Linked DNA regions of Homo sapiens: region 2 is linked to region 1. The links are contacts of gene promoters, found by promoter capture Hi-C in human tissues and cell types (Jung and others, 2019). All regions are on one chromosome and are shown on one strand. Each heading gives the region's core, a stretch centred on a gene start or on the middle of the fragment in contact. The rest is flanking DNA. Distances are from core to core; before and after follow the strand shown.

What was found. Contacts are between HindIII fragments. The study calls those that stand out against the background at their distance.
Region 2: the fragment with the promoter of ZNF599 here is called in contact with the fragment with the promoter of WTIP in region 1 in 1 of the 25 tissues and cell types used here (heart right ventricle).

Annotation. Positions count from the first base shown.
Region 1 is chr19:34,480,503-34,483,022 of GRCh38, forward strand. WTIP (WT1 interacting protein) reads left to right here and starts at 1,256. Exons shown (of 8, transcript NM_001080436.2): 1 at 1,256-2,139. The coding sequence starts at 1,473. RefSeq lists enhancers at 329-983, 984-1,639, 1,640-2,294. The HindIII fragment of the contact is 21,139 bases long and covers 1-2,520 here.
Region 2 is chr19:34,771,958-34,774,477 of GRCh38, forward strand. It overlaps ZNF599 (zinc finger protein 599), which reads right to left and starts at 1,258. Exons shown (of 4, transcript NM_001007248.3): 1 at 867-1,258. The coding sequence starts at 884. LOC124904696 (a long non-coding RNA gene) reads left to right here and starts at 1,390. Exons shown (of 2, transcript XR_007067234.1): 1 at 1,390-1,737; 2 at 2,310-2,520. RefSeq lists a silencer at 909-968 and an enhancer at 1,079-1,188. The HindIII fragment of the contact is 7,437 bases long and covers 1-2,520 here.

The DNA of each region.
Region 1 (2,520 bases), core at 6-2,505:
CCACTGTACTCCAGCCTGGGGGACAGAGCGACACCTTGTCTGAAAAAAACAAAACAGCGCAACTCCCCCACCCTCCGCGCACACGAAATGCTTGCTTCCACTTCCCCTACCCTGGTGGGGCAGGGGCTGGAACTCCGCAGGCTATGGGAAGGTGCTGGGGTTAGCGGCCCCAGCGGGTGCTCAGTGGTGTTGAGGCCACACTGCCCTGGGCGGTCTGGCCGGGACAGTTCCCGTGCGGGCTCCCTGCGCGCTGAGCCACTGTAGGCGCCTTCCCGAAAATCTCTGAGCAGAGAGGGCCTGGAAAACAGTACTCTCTCACGCAACACTTTTCTTGGATCCATCAGGCCCTGACAGATAACGGTTTGGTTTTCTTCCCTATAGCCGTGTGACTTGTACAAGGGATTTTAGTTGTGTCCTTGGGCACGAAGCCCTAGTCACCTCTCGATTCCCCACCTATGTGGCCCCTATGGCCCCGCTGGTTCCAGGACCTCCCCTCGAAGCCTCACCCACCACCCTGGATGCAGGTGCTGGAAAAGGGAGGAGTCCCCATATTTCACGGGGACTGCCTGTGATGGCCACAGGGGAGGCTCGCCGCCCACCGGCTCTGAGCCTGAGGCCTGCTTCTAGCCTGGCCTTGGGGGCCTGGGCGAAGCGACCCAGCGCGAGGACCAGTCCCCAACCAACCCGCTCCTAGTTCTGGGCGCCTTCCCCAGCAGTCAGATGGGGGCTTCAGAGGCCGGTGCGCGGCCACATGGCCCCGGGCCAGGCAGGGGGTCGTGGGGACGCATCTGCGCTAGGCGCACAGTATTCCTGGGCGCGGGACGGGCGAAGCGCCGTGGGTTCCAAGCTGAGCTGGGTCGGCCCTGCAGCGCCGGAGAGCAAGGCGGCGCAGGGAAGGGAGATGGGGCGGGATGTGGGGAAAGCTGTCGACTGCTTGGATCTCTCCGGCCCGGATGGCGCCAGCTGCCTCCAGCTCAGCCTGCGGAAATCCGAGCTCTTCCCAGCGGCCCGACGGCCCGGGCGCCCCGCAGACCCTGGGCTCTCCCCGCGGTGCCTCCGCCGCCCGCCCCTGCGTCCTGGCCCGGCCTCCACGCCCCTCCGAGGTCCCGGCGCAGCGCGGCCGCCGCCACTCCCCCCACATTCCAGAGGCCGCAGCGCCGTCTCCTTCCTCGCATTCCTGCCCCCGCAAAGGAGTCCCTCCGCCCCGCGCGAGGCCGCGGCGAGGAGGGGGCGCGGCCCGGCGCCTGGGAGCTTACATTCCTCCGCCGCGCGCGCCGCCGAGCAGGGCGCCGCGTCCCCCGGCCCGCGCGTGGCCGCCGGAACGACCCCGGCCCGGCGCCGGCCCCGCCCCGCCCCGCGCCCAGGGGTCCCGGGGCGGGCTCCGGGCTTCGGGCGGACGATGCGGCGGCCCGGCCGGAGCGGCGGCGGGAAGCGGAGGCGGAGGTGACGCGCCAGGGCCGGCGGGCCGGGCCATGCAGCGCTCCAGGGCGGGCGCGGACGAGGCGGCCCTACTCCTGGCCGGGCTGGCCCTGCGGGAGCTGGAGCCCGGGTGCGGCTCTCCCGGTCGGGGGCGGCGGGGGCCGCGGCCTGGGCCTGGAGACGAGGCGGCGCCCGCGCTGGGCCGCAGAGGGAAGGGCAGCGGCGGCCCCGAGGCCGGGGCGGACGGACTGAGCCGCGGGGAGCGGGGTCCCCGGCGCGCGGCGGTTCCGGAGCTCAGCGCGCAGCCTGCGGGCAGCCCACGGGCCAGCCTGGCGGGGTCCGACGGCGGCGGCGGTGGCGGCAGCGCCCGATCCAGCGGCATCAGCCTGGGCTACGACCAGCGCCACGGCAGCCCGCGCTCCGGTCGCTCGGACCCGCGTCCCGGTCCCGGGCCGCCTTCGGTGGGCAGCGCCCGCTCCAGCGTTTCCAGCCTCGGCTCCCGGGGCTCGGCCGGCGCCTACGCTGACTTCCTCCCGCCCGGCGCCTGCCCCGCGCCCGCTCGCTCCCCGGAGCCTGCGGGGCCGGCTCCCTTCCCGCTGCCTGCACTCCCGCTGCCCCCTGGCCGGGAGGGCGGCCCAAGCGCGGCCGAGCGGCGGCTGGAGGCGCTCACCCGGGAGCTGGAGCGGGCGCTCGAGGCGCGCACGGCGCGGGACTACTTCGGTGAGCTCGCTCGGCCCGGCAGTTCCCTGCGCGCATGGCTGGGGTCCGGGGTTCCGAGACTGCCTCGGGTAGGCGGCCGGATCAGCGGAGGAGAGCACGGGGCTGGCTGGGGGTGCAGCAGTGCACGGGGTTGGGACGAGGAAGGTGCATCCCCTGGGGACTGGGGAGCGCAAAGGGTGAGTGAGTGCGCCTGGATCCCCAGCAGCGGCTTCACCCCTGCCTCTGGGTCCCCCGACACACGAGGGGTTCTGGCCGAGTGAGTTGATGTGCGGTTCCTAACTTAACAGGCAAGTCAGGTTCATGGGCACACTGAGCCATTTTCTGATAATTTTTTCTTCTTTCTTCTTTTTTTTTTTTCTTTCTTCTTTTTTTTTTTTTTTT
Region 2 (2,520 bases), core at 8-2,507, 290 kb after region 1:
AGGGAAGCTCTCTCTGAAGAGACCCTGGAACAAGGTTAGATTGAAGTTAGAGAACAGACCAGGTGAGGAAAAATGAATAGACAACTCCTGAAGGTGATCAGAGCTACGAGGAGTAAACAGTGTGACATGCTGGAGAGTAACTTGGGGCCTTATGTGCTCACACTCCAAGAGACATACATTCATGTACACTGTCATTAATGAATATTGTGCTGGATTTGCTTTTCAAATACAAGAGCATGTGTTAAACAGAAGCACGGATTCACTGCTGTTAGGCGGCAAGCCAGATTCATTTGTAATAAACAGACGGCATCTGCAAAGATAAATCCAATGAGCTTCTTGTCTTCTAGCCTCCTGCCAAAAATGCTGCTCCCGCCTCACCTCTTGCCCTCGAGGCTCTCATTCCCTCTCCCAGCTTTTGGTAGGGCCAGACTTCCGCTGGAATGATCCCCTAAAACAACAGCAGGACCTAGAGAGTCCTTCTTCAAAGACGGCACCTAGAGTGATGCTCTCCGAGCAGTGAAAGACAGGACCCACGTCACAAGCGTACCCTCTCCAGCTCCCTCCACAGAGAAAATTACTGAGACTCGCATTTTAGACCCGAGGGAATGGAGGCCGAGGGCAGCGAGGCGACAGCTCCAGGTTAGAGCCAGAGACAGGGACCTCTCCTTACAACTCCTGTCCTGGATTCAGGACCCTGGGTAGGAAGTGATTAGCCCTGCCCTCTCACCTCACCCTCTCCCGGGATCTCCATAACCTAGGGCATCAAAAGGGAGAAGCACAGAGTCCCGGCATCCGCCGTATTACAGCGGATGGGTGCATGCGGGCGGTGACCCGAGCTCGCGCGGGCTGCGGAACCCTCCACTCACCAACGCCGGCGCCGCCATGGGCCCAGGGGGCTGGGTGAGGCCGTGAGAGTCGGCGAGGAAGCCGGTCCTGCGGGCTCGGCCGACCCCGGGCTCCGGCTCTGGGCTGCGAGGGACCTCAGTCCCCGCCGTCGTGTAAAATGCACACAAGGTTCGCGGCGCCGCCTCTGCGCGCCGTGAGGACACAGGGCTGTCGCCAAGGCCCCAGGAAGGGTTTTGCAGACGCTTGTGGGGGTGGGATCGCGGCTGACATAAAAGCGTGTAAGTGGGTCCTATCCTCCTCACTGTCCGTCTCTACTCGGTCTCGAAAAGTGGCCCCTGTCTGGCGTTCTACCCAGTGTAGCGTTGGCAACCACAGCAGCCGCAACCTAACGGCGGACGAAGACTGGACGCCGGAAGTCCCGCCCACGCCGCTACGGGAACGCCCCTCTGCGCCTTCCGTCTATGGCTTGGGGTCGGCTTCCGTCCCTTGTAGCACTGCCTTCTGGGTAATGTAGTTTGACGGAATCCGGGTGGTACCTGGAGCGCACTTTCTGTTCTCGGTGAGGCGGCTTCTCAAGGCTCCCAAGAAAGGGATTGGCTTCACCTCTTCTTAAAGGAGAGGCACACAGAGTTCCGTGGAAATTATCTGAGGCAATGACCCACTCTCAAATGTCTCTACCAGGCAACTCACGCCTTGACTTTCCTCCCTGTGTATCCCTGCGCCAGCAGTTCATCTCTCTGAGCCTTGAGATGGAGATTCCTAAGGAAAATGAAGATAATTATTTAATATGATAATATTAAAATTTCCCCTATCAGTAATTTTCAGATGACATCAGCATTACCTGCGAATTTGTTACCAATGCAAGTTCTTAGTCCCCACCCACTGAATCAGGTACTCTGGGGGGTGGGACCCAGCCCTCTGCTTAACTTGTCCAGGAAAAGTGGATGCTGCAAAACATTTGAGAACCAGACTCTTTAAATTCCAGTAAATAAATGAGACAAAGCCACCTGTTTGGTGGGAAGTAACTAAGAATTGCTTAGCACTGGGCCTGGAACATACCGATAAGAACATAAGAGCTATTGCTGTCATTATTAATATTCTGTATTATTGGCAACATCATCACAATACACTGCTAGGGGAGGGTCTGAGATACTTCTTTGCAGACTCTGATATTTGTCAAAACAAATACGTTGACTGATTCAACAGGAGCCTCATGAATACTGTTTAAATTTTACATAATAATACGTTGCAGCATTTGGCGTATGCATCTTTTTAAAACGGTATATGCAGGAGGGTTTCCTAATATACAGGTAGACCTATTGCCCAAGGGATACTTTCTTACATGATTCAAAACTTAGGATCACTGAGACTAATTACCTGCAGCCCTAAGGGAAGAGTGGAGTTGACATGGTTTCTAGTTTGTGATGTAAGATGGCGTGTCACTGTTCATCTCTAATTCACAGCAACCAGGATCTGACCCCTCCCCATCTGCCCCTCCAGCCCCCAGGGAAGCCAGAACCAGGCACAAACCAGATGGCCCAGCTTATGCCCAGCAACTCAGGGTCACCAGATCTTGTCTCATCAAGACACTTTCAGCCCACCACCCAAACCTGTAGCCCACATGAAGAGGGCAATAATCCTGGACACTGTGAAAAGTAAAAGCATTACATCCAA